2 separate regions of the Homo sapiens genome follow, and region 2 is linked to region 1. Evidence: promoter capture Hi-C in 16 types of primary human blood cells and fetal thymus (Javierre and others, 2016). All regions are on one chromosome and are shown on one strand. The core of a region is centred on a gene start or on the middle of the fragment in contact, and the rest is flanking DNA. Distances in the headings are between cores, read along the strand shown. Region 1 holds the start of LINC03040 (long intergenic non-protein coding RNA 3040). Region 2 overlaps POLH (DNA polymerase eta).

The links. Contacts are between HindIII fragments. The CHiCAGO score rates a contact against its expected background, and 5 or more counts as called.
Region 2: a contact is called between a fragment that was not itself captured here and the fragment with the promoter of LINC03040 in region 1, in 1 of 17 cell types (erythroblasts). The highest score is 6.3, in erythroblasts.

Annotation. Positions count from the first base shown.
Region 1 is chr6:43,998,363-44,003,904 of GRCh38, forward strand. It overlaps LINC03040 (long intergenic non-protein coding RNA 3040), which reads left to right and starts at 2,223. Exons shown (of 3, transcript NR_160956.1): 1 at 2,223-2,338; 2 at 3,691-3,765; 3 at 4,319-5,542. It overlaps SCIRT (stem cell inhibitory RNA transcript), which reads right to left. Exons shown (of 5, transcript NR_125864.1): 2 at 2,681-2,754; 3 at 2,229-2,353; 4 at 856-1,146. LOC124901321 (a long non-coding RNA gene) reads left to right here. Exons shown (of 2, transcript XR_007059591.1): 2 at 589-1,192. RefSeq lists an enhancer at 2,330-2,479 and a silencer at 4,402-4,571. The HindIII fragment of the contact is 11,725 bases long and covers 537-5,542 here.
Region 2 is chr6:43,610,229-43,615,770 of GRCh38, forward strand. POLH (DNA polymerase eta) reads left to right here. Exons shown (of 11, transcript NM_006502.3): 10 at 326-495; 11 at 3,432-5,542. The coding sequence ends at 4,329. Among named protein-coding and RNA genes, the nearest start is that of GTPBP2, 16 kb to the right of the region's middle. RefSeq lists a silencer at 1,733-1,958. The HindIII fragment of the contact is 623 bases long and covers 3,049-3,671 here.

The DNA.
Region 1 (5,542 bases), core at 973-3,472:
GCCAGAGCCTCCCCGACGAGCGCCACCCCCTGCTCCATGGCGCCCAGTCCCATCCACCACCCAAGGGCTGAGGAGTGCGGGCGCACAGCGCCGGACTGGCAGGCAGCTCCACCTGCAGCCCTGGTGCAGGATCCACTGGGTGTAGCCAGCTGGGCTCCTGAGTCTGGTGGGGACGTGGAGAACCTTTATGTCTAGCTCAGGGATTGTAAATACACCAATTGGCACTCTGTATCTAGCTCAAGGTTTGTAAACACACCAATCAGCACTGTGAATGCACCAATCGACACTGTATCTAGCTACTCTGGTGGGGACTTGGAGAACCTTTGTGTCAACACTCTGTATCTAGCTAATCTAGTGGGGACATGGTGAACCTTTGTGTCTAGCTCGGATTGTAAACGCACCAATCAGCACCCTGTCAAAACAGACCACTGGGCTCTACCAATCAGCAGGATGTGGGTGGGGCCAGATAAGAGAATAAAAGCAGGCTGCCCCAGCCCGCAGTGGCAACCCGCTGGGATCCCTTTCCACGCTGTGGAAGCTTTGTTCTTTTGCTCTTTGCAATAAATCTTGCTACTGCTCACTCTGTAGGTCCACGCTGCCTTTATGAGCTGTAACACTCACCGCGAAGGTCTGCAGCTTCACTCCTGAAGCCAGCGAGACTACGAGCCCACCGGGAGGAACAGACAACTCCAGACGCGCCGCCCTAAGAACTGTAACACTCACCGCGAAGGTCTGCAGCTTCACCCCTAAGCCAGCGAGACCACGAACCCACCAGAAGGAAGAAACTCTGAACACATCTGAACATCAGAAGGAACAAACTCTGGACACGCTGTCTTTAAGAACTGTAACACTCACCGCGAGGGTCCGCGGCTTCATTCTTGAAGTCAGTGAGACCAAGAACCCACCAATTCCGGACACAGGAGGATCGCTTGAGCCCAGGAATTCAAGACCAGCCTGGGCAACCCAGCAACACTCCATCTCTACAGAAGTTGTAAAATTAGCTGGGCGTGATGGGGCGCATCTGTAGTCCTAGCTACTTATCCTAGCCTTGGCGAGAGGATCACTTGAGCCCAGGAGGTTAAGGCTGCAGTGAGCCATGATTGCACCACTGCACTCCAGCCGGGGTAACAAAGTCAGACCGTGTCTCTAAAAATAAATAAATAAATAAAAATAAAATAAATTTGACAACCAAGTTTAAATGGTGTTCTCATTATTCCCATTTTACAGATGCAGTCACTGGGGCCCCCAAGAAGTTAAGTGATCTGCCTAAGATCACATGCCTTTGTTTATATGTGTTGGAATTTTTCAATTCTCTCTGGAAATCCACATCCTCCACCCCCAACCCAGACTCCAACACAACTGCTTCCACCACGGCCCACCTGCGTACCCCACACATATCCCTGAAGTGCAGACTTCCTCCCATCCTTCCCCAGGAAGATTCCCTGGTCTGTGGGGTAGCGAGTGTTGGGGTGGTCTCTCCTTCCCTCCCATGCTTCTAGATTCCTCTGTAGGGTCCCGGTTTTGTTTTTGGTGTGGCAGCAAGCTCACTGCCTTTTTGAGTACTGTATGTCAGTGAGTTTGCATGCACACACCTGGAGGAGGGATGTGTGGGCATGAGAGGTATCTGGGCAAGTGGGCTTACTTGCCCACCTGGGGCACATGTGGGTACAGTGCAGTGGAGCATACATTGCCTAGATTGTAACCGTGTGTGTGCCTAGACACAGGCAAATGAGCCCATGTGGGTGTTCATGAAGGGCCTGCCCCCTGCATGTTTGGGGGTCTGTAGAATGAGTCCCCATTTCTCTCCCCTTCCCAAATAACTGCCACCATCTTCAGTTCAGACTCCTGGGCCCCAGGTAAGGGGCTGGTGAAAACCGCCTGTGACTGGGGACAGAGACACCTGAGTCTTAAGCCCCACCCAGGCTGCTAGTGCCCTTGAGCAGGCATCACCCCACCCAGGCAGCGGGAGTGTCCTCACCCAATGGGATAGGGTGACATGGGGGAGGAGGTTTGAAGCGGGGAGAAGGCAGCGAGGCTTTCAGCTCCCTAGATGGGAGGCTCATTACCCTAGCACTCAGTAGGTTGTAGGGAAGGGGGACTGAGCCAGGACTTGGCACTGACTACAAAGGGTAGGGGCAGCCCCCAGCACTCCCGCCGCGGCAGGCCAGGGGAGGGGCTGTGACGTTTGGTGGCCTCATGCAGCTGAGAGGAAGTAGCTAATTGCCAACCTGATGACTGGCGGCTGAGGAGTGGGGTGATGATGCCACTGGCAGAAGCAGGCGCCCTGGCCCAAGGAGGAGGCCCTTCAGCAACGGAGTGGGCCTGCATTCTGCGGAGGGTGAGACTGAGGTGGCTGCAGTCAAAGGAGAAGGGGGCAGGGGTTTGTTGAGGCTGTGACCGTGGGAAAGCGCTTCTCCAGGGCTTCCCTCAGCTTCAAGGAGAAAGAGTTCAGAGGCCCTGAGGGGATGAAGGGACTTGTGAAGGGGCTTCAGGGGGATGGGTTGGGGGGAAGGAGGTTCCTATTCTTACTCCCCTTCTGCCTATGCTCCCCCAATGTTCCTGTCTCTCCCCTCCCCCACCTTGGCCCCCTCTTTGGCCCCTGTGGCCAAAGTTGTTGAGGAAGGAGGGAGTAGATGGAGGGCTCTTTTCACCAGAAGACCCCCAGGCACAAGCAGCCCACCTTACTGATGGTCAGAGCATCCAGAAGAAGTGGCAAGACTTCAGCTGTCCTCAAAGCAGGAAGACAGAGTGTTTCTGGCAGAAAGAACAGCACAAGCAAAGGTTAGGCAGTGGGGTCTGGAGAGGCTGGTGGAGGACTGGGGCTTGGCTTCAATGGTTATGAGAGGAGGTGGGCAGGATGTTCTGTACCAAGGGCCACACTGTCCCTTCCTGGAAGAAACAGTGGGTACCCAGCACCCAGAGCTTCTCCCACATGCTGGCCACCGCCTCTGGCCCCAGTAGACCTGGCCCTCAACTGCCTCAGCAAGCCTCACAGGTTGGGGACCCCACCCTCATTATTCTCAAGTGCATCAACCCCGAAGGACTGAAGCCCCGAGTCCCAATAAACAGGTCCCATCCATCCGTAGGCCAGTCCGCTGGGCCCCTAGCACCCCCTATGGGCAGGAAGCAACACTAATGGAGGAGGAGCCTCCAGCAGCCTGGGGTGGGGTGGGGGTGGGAGAGTGAGACGTGAGGGAGGAGAGAGACTTGCCCTCTAGGAAGCGGACAGACCATGCCTCAGGAAACCCCAGTGTCACAGGTCACAGACACTGACCTTGAAGCGTTACTCTCATGGGTGAAATTTAGCCCCTGTCCTCAGGAAGCTCCCAGTCTGACGGGGGACACATATAGTGCTCTCAGAGCTGCCTTCTTTAGGGTGAAACTCAGTATCTGGGCTTCAGGAAACTCCCAGTGTAAGGGGAGAGACACGACCCTGCCCTTAGGGATCTCTCAAATGAGGCATACCCACTGGACTTTCGGGAACCATCAATCTGTTTCCAGACATGGATTAGAGATTTCAATGCCTCAAGGGCTGCCAGGAAAAAAAATACAAGACGTCCAATTAAATTGAATATCAGATAAACAACGAATAATATTTTAGCATAAGTCTGTCCCATACAATATTTGGGACAGACTTACACTATTTAAAGTATCCAGTTTAACTGGAAGTCTTGTGTTTTTATTTGCCAGATCTGGTAACCCTAGGTGCCTCCAGTTTGAGGGAGGAGAGAGGACACCCCCTCCACCCCAGACATAGGAAAGCAGGTAAACACCTCAGCGTGCTCCGGAGGGCAGGGGTGGGGCAGGAGGAGAGTCCTGGGGCTCCGGCTCGCGGCAGTTTAAAATTCCTTCCAGGCCAGAGCCCTAATCCCTCGGTGCACAATGGCCGCCTTCTCCCCCGCCGCCCGCGCCCACGCCCTCCCCCGCGGGGCCGTGGCAGTGCCACCAAGGGCCTCTTTAAGCCCCTTTGAAGCCGCGGAGCCCCGCGCCGCAGGAGGCCCCGCCGCTATGCCAGCTATGCCAGCTATGTCCCTGCTGCCGCCGGCCGCCACCGCTCCCCCATTAATGCTGGCTAATCTGGCTAATAAATAAACTCCCCTCCCAGCCCCAGCCCCGCGCCGACTCCTCCCCGCCCCCGCAGAATCGATGTCAGGGCTCGACTAGAGCAAGCGCCCGCACTCCACCCCACTCCCTCGAGATGTAGCTGACGTTTTTTCTTATGGCTGCCCTAGGTCTGTAGCCCGTCGGGGATTCTCGGGGAGACGTGGGATTTGGGAGGTCTCCGCCTAGCCACTGCGTTTGCCTTCCTCTTTTCCAGTCCACCTGCGCACCAGGGGCAGGACACGTGGCTGGGTGCAGACGCTGGCCCGGATGTCGCGGAGGACTCGCGGGCCGGTAGAGCGCGCGGCGGCGGCGGCGGCGGCGGCGGCGGGAGGAGACGCAGGTCACGCCCCCTTCCCACCACCTCCCGCCGCCGACGGGGCGCGCGCGCCGAGGAGCCCGGGACAGGTGACTCCTAGAGGACTGCGTCTGCGCCTCCCCCGGCGGGAGTCCCTTCTTCGCGGCCTCTGCCGCCCCCTGCGTCCCCTCCTGGGCTTCCGAGAGTCTGACTCAGCCAAGCCGGCATCGCTTCGCCTCCTACAACACACCCCGAGCGCGAGAAGAAATTACAGGATTGCAGGGGCACGGCTAATGCGCTCTAATTACCCACCGCCGCTGTCATCCGCGGCGCTCCGCGGCGCTGGGCCAACGCGCCGTAATTAAGACGCCGCTCCCCGGTCCCGGAACCCTCCCTTCGCCACCCTCCACCCACCCACCTCGCGGTCCCCAGGACCACTGGCTGCCAACTCCTGCCGCCCTCTGGGACTGCCCCTCAGTCCCAGGAGAGCTATGAGGCCTCACTGGGGGCAGAACTTGGGGAGACCGAAGCCGGCCCTTCCACTCCCCTAAACCTACAGTCCTGGAAGGTCTCTGCTGGAAGAGACTGGGAGAGTGGGGAGGGGCCAGGGACCTATTTCGTTGACAGAAACAGTGAGGTCTATTGGAAAGTTAGCCTTCAGTGGGAGGAGTGGCAAAGGCACGCAGGGCAGCAGTACCCCCGTTTGGCACTTGAGGCACGGAGAAGGGAAGGGAAGTCCGCCCAGCCAGAACTCCCAGACCCGCTCGTTTAACAGTGGCTTTATGAGCAGCACGACGGACTCCCTCCCCTGGCGGGGAAATTACCTTCCTGCGAAGAAAGGTGACATCCCCGCCACAGACACGGAGGCCCCGCCTGCTGGCCAGCTGTGGCCGCCATAGGGGAGCTGGTGAGGAGTGAGGTGGCTCTGGCCTCCCATGTCAGGTAGGGTGAGAGAGGCCCTGAAGATAGAAGCCAGGCCCGAAGGCCAGAATTAAAGGGGTAGCTTGGCCATCAGCTCCTTCCCCCAAAACCAGGCTCAGAGCTCTCCTCTATCAGCAATTCTTTCCTGAGGTCCAGGGTGTTGCAAACTCATGGCCTTGGGCCACGTTTTACCTTCAGTGAGGTTTTGTTTGGCTTGCAATG
Region 2 (5,542 bases), core at 2,110-4,609, 390 kb before region 1:
TTTTTTTGTATTTTTCAGTAGAGATGGGATTTCGCCATGTTTGCCAGGCTAGTCTCGAACTCCTGACTTCAGGTGATCCACCTGTCTCAGCCTCCCAAGGTGCTGGGATTACAGGCGTGAGCCACCATGCCTGGCCTCTTTCTCTTTTTTATATTTTATCTTTACTCTTTGCAGAACTCAGTTTACCTTTATTCTTGACTTTTAAACTACTGTTTCCAAACCATTGTCACCCTGGTTCTTTTAATTTCCTCTCCTGCAGTTCAGTACCTAGAATTCAGATGCTCCTCATAACTTTATTTCTGGTCTCCATCCTTTCCACCCACAGAATGACAGGGTAGCCACCCAGCTGGTTGTGAGCATTCGTGTACAAGGAGACAAACGCCTCAGCAGCCTGCGCCGCTGCTGTGCCCTTACCCGCTATGATGCTCACAAGATGAGCCATGATGCATTTACTGTCATCAAGAACTGTAATACTTCTGGAATCCAGACAGAATGGTGAGTTCTTTTCTAGCTCATCTTCTCAGAATAGATGATGATTCTTAGCTCTGTCTTAGCTCTACAAGACATAATTTTTATCATAAAGTTCCTCATTGTGTCTAATCACTCAAATTTTCACATGAGCTGAATTTCAGAAGATGAAATATGCTTTTATGTACAGATTAGTCCTTCAATGAGGTAAAGGGTAAATGTCATTTTAAAGTTATTATTAAAGTATCGGCCGGGCGCAGTGGCTCACGCCTGTAATCCCAGCACTTTGGGAGGCCAAGGTGGGTGAATCACCTGAGGTCTGTCTCAGTTCTACAAGTAGTAGGAATCTCTGTCTTAGCTCTACAAGTAGTAGGAATCTGAGCTCTTCCATCTGGGATAGACTCTGACTCAGACTACCAGTACCTGTTACTCTGGGAGAAAATACAGTACCAACCTCAGAAACAAGACAGCTCAGCACAGATCCTTTGCCGACAGCTGATACATTCCAGTTCCCAGGAGGTTAGACCCTTACTCTGTATTGGCTTGGTCAGGGAAATGACCAGTTGCACTTGGAGAACAGAGCTCAAATTTCAAGGATACATTTGGGAACTTCAAACTACTTGATTGTTCTATCTTAAAAGCATATTTCTTGATTATAAAGGTGACCTGTGTTCACTGATATTCTCTATCTGACATCCCAACTCAGTTACAAGCTCCACTGGTATTATACCAAATGTCATATTCATTAGTAAACTTCACTTCTGTTGGTCATGAAATATAAGCCTCTTTTTGGAGCATCTTCATTTTCTGTCCAGATATTAATGATTTTCAGGATTGGAATCCTTTAATTGCATATTTAATAAAGCCCTTACTTTTTTTAAAGTATTCCAAATTCACAATAGAAATATAATTATGAGAGAGAGGTAAGTCAGTTGCTCACTTACAGATGTATATTGAATATTATACAAAATAAAATCAAAGTTTAGTTAATCGCTTATTACTTATCTAAATATATTGGCAGTATAATTATGTGTACAGACCTATAATATGGTGGAGTCTCCTAGTCTTTGTTCATAGGGCCGGGCGCGGTGGCTCACGGCTGTAATCCCAGCACTTTCGGAGGCCGAGGCAGGCAGATCACCTGAGGTCAGGAGTTCAAGAGCACCCCAGCCAACATGGTGAAACCCTGTCTCTACTAAAAATACAAAAATTAGCCAGGCATGGTGGTGGATGCCTATAATCCCAGCTACTTGGGAGGCTGAGGCAGGAGAATTGCTTGAACCTGGGAGGTGGAGGTTGCGGTGAGCCGAGATTGCGCCATTGCACTCCAGCCTGGGCAACAAGAGCGAAATTCCGTCTCCAACAACAACAACAACAAATAAATAAATAAATAAATAAAGTCTTTGTTCTGAGAATAATTTACTTAATACTTCCTGATATATTTATTTTCAAATATTGAAGTTTTACAAAACCAAATAACAACCGTGGTACTAATGTACACATGAAACCTTATTTGAAAAGTTATAAATTGACAAACTATAACAAATACTACTCACCAACGGTGTGAAACTCCGTGATGCACAGGGAAGCATCAAAATTATCTGATTATAAGACTGTCCCAAAGCATGAAACCTGAGGATATTGGGATACTTTTTTTTTTTTTTTTTGAGACGGAATCTCGCTCTTGTTGTCTAGGCTGGAGTGCAGTGACGCAATCTCGGCTCACTGCAACCTCTGCCTCCCGGGTTCAAGCGATTCTCCTGCCTCAGCCTCCTGAGTAGCTGGGATTACAGGTGCCCGCCACCACGCCCGGCTAAATTTTGTACTTTTAGTAGAGACAGGGTTTCTCCATGTTGGCCAGGCTGGTCTCAAATTCCTGACCTCAGGTGTTTCACCCACCTCGGCCTCCCAAAGTGCTGGGATTACAGGCGTGAGCCACTGCACCCGGCCAATAGTGTAATAATAACTTTAAAATGACATTTACCCTTTACCTCATTGAAGGACTAATCTGTACATAAAAGCATATTTCATCTTCTGAAATTCAGCTTATGTGAAAATTTGAGTGATTAGACACAATGAGGAACTTTATGACAAAAATTTCTGATTTTTTTTTTTTTTTTTTTGAGAGGGAGTCTGGCTCTGTCACCCAGGCTGGAGTGCAGTGGCGCAATCTCCGCTCACTGCAACCTCTGCCTCCCGGGTTCAAGCAATTCTTCTGCCTCAGCCTCCCAAGTAGCTGGGTTACAGGCGTGTGTCACCACACCCAGCTAATTTTTGTATTTTAGTAGAGATGGGGTTTCACCATGTTGGTCAGGCTGGTCTCATACTCCTGACCTCATGACCCACCCGCCTTAGCCTCCCAAAGTGCTGGGATTACAGGTGTGAGCCACCGCTCCCGGCTATCACAAGAATTTCTTAAAATGTTTCTGAAATTGGGACTAGTAACGAAAAGCAGTTGTGGAATTTCATTCTCTAGAAATTCCAGAGTGGTAAGTCAGTCAGGGTTAGGTAGTGCCCTGTTTAAAAACAGGATAATGGCTAAGAGGATTTTTTCAAGTCTTTCTAGTCTAAATATTCTAAAGCTTTTTGTTGTCCTGAATAAAATTTCTTGCCCCAACCCTGAATTACAGCAGCTTTCCAGTGGTACCTTATAAAAAACAATAATCTCTAGCTGTCGGGAGGTGAGTGGTTGCTAAATTAGTGGTTCTCAAGACATAACATCAGCATCACCTAGGAAATTAAATTCTCTGTCATCCCAGGTCTGTTAATCTCTGATACACATTAACGTTTGAGAACCACTGCAGTAAAGAATAATTTCTGTGGCAGAACCAGAATGCTAGTCATCTATGGATTAAATCTGTCCTATGGTGAAATAAAACAGATACAATTCATGGAATTAGCAATAGGTCACTATTTTAATCTTCTAAATTGCTAATCATCTTATTTCTTTACTTTCTGTATAGGTCTCCTCCTCTCACAATGCTTTTCCTCTGTGCTACAAAATTTTCTGCCTCTGCCCCTTCATCTTCTACAGACATCACCAGCTTCTTGAGCAGTGACCCAAGTTCTCTGCCAAAGGTGCCAGTTACCAGCTCAGAAGCTAAGACCCAGGGAAGTGGCCCAGCGGTGACAGCCACTAAGAAAGCAACCACGTCTCTGGAATCATTCTTCCAAAAAGCTGCAGAAAGGCAGAAAGTTAAAGAAGCTTCGCTTTCATCTCTTACTGCTCCCACTCAGGCTCCCATGAGCAATTCACCATCCAAGCCCTCATTACCTTTTCAAACCAGTCAAAGTACAGGAACTGAGCCCTTCTTTAAGCAGAAAAGTCTGCTTCTAAAGCAGAAACAGCTTAATAATTCTTCAGTTTCTTCCCCCCAACAAAACCCATGGTCCAACTGTAAAGCATTACCAAACTCTTTACCAACAGAGTATCCAGGGTGTGTCCCTGTTTGTGAAGGGGTGTCGAAGCTAGAAGAATCCTCTAAAGCAACTCCTGCAGAGATGGATTTGGCCCACAACAGCCAAAGCATGCACGCCTCTTCAGCTTCCAAATCTGTGCTGGAGGTGACTCAGAAAGCAACCCCAAATCCAAGTCTTCTAGCTGCTGAGGACCAAGTGCCCTGTGAGAAGTGTGGCTCCCTGGTACCGGTATGGGATATGCCAGAACACATGGACTATCATTTTGCATTGGAGTTGCAGAAATCCTTTTTGCAGCCCCACTCTTCAAACCCCCAGGTTGTTTCTGCCGTATCTCATCAAGGCAAAAGAAATCCCAAGAGCCCTTTGGCCTGCACTAATAAACGCCCCAGGCCTGAGGGCATGCAAACATTGGAATCATTTTTTAAGCCATTAACACATTAGTGCTGCCCTCAGGCTTGCCTGTAGGATTTAATATTTTTTATCTTTACAGATCTTTATCTTTAATATTTTATCTTTACAGATTTCCCTGAGAAAGGGAATTATGAAATTTTTAATACAAAAAATAATCCATTTAGGTGCTGAGTTACGGTCCCATCTCTTCACAGGCATGGATTCTAATCCCACTGCTGACAGAGATGTAAAAATTCATCCTACCAGAGTTTTTAATCTTTAGCATTTAGGGAGGCAGTGTCATAAAGTAAAAAGTGTGTGGGCCTTGGAGTCTAAGAGACGTGGTTGCAAACTTAGCTCTGGTTATTGCAATGAGGGCCTTGAACAAGTCATTTTCTTCACATTCTCATCTGTAAAATGGAGATAATACCTTACAGATTATTGCAGATTAATAACAATGTATTCAAATTATGTAACTCGGCCGGGTACAATGGCTCACGCCTGTAATCCTAACACTTTGGGAGGCCGAGGCAGACAGATCACCTGAGGTCAGGAGTTTGAGACCAGCCTGGCCAACATGGCAAAACCATCTCTACTAAAAATAGAAAAATTAGCCAGGCACGTTCCAGGCACCTGTGATCCCAGCTACTTAGAGGCTGAGGCAGAAGAATTGCTTTAACCTTGGAGGCGGAGGTTGCATTGAGCTGAGATCATGCTAGTGCGCTCCAGCCTGGGCAACAGAGCGAGACTTCATCTCAGAAAATAAAAAATAGGGGCCAGGCACAGTGGCTCATACCTGTAATGCCAGCACTTTGGGAGGCCAAGGCGGGCAGATCACGAGGTCAGGAGTTTCAGACCAATATGGTGAAACCCCATCTCTACTAAAATTACAAAAAAAATTATCCAGGCGTGGTGGTGCACGCCTGTAATCCCAGCTACTCAGGAGGCTAAGGCAGGAGAATCACTTGAACCCAGGAGGCAGAGGTTGGAGTGAGCTGAGATCGCGCCACCGCACTCCAGCCTGGGCAACAGAGCGAGACTCCATCTCAAACAAAAACAAGAACAAAAACAAACATAAAGTTGGCACAGAAAAGGGACCAAGTTTAAAAAAGGGTTTTAAATGTAATGAGACTTGCATAGTTAAAAAAAAAAAAGGGATTATTTTTATTTTTATTTTTTATTTTTGAGACGGAGTCTCCCTCTGTCGTCAGGCTAGAATGCAGTGGTGCGTTCTCAGCTCACCGCAACCTCCGTCTCCTGGGTT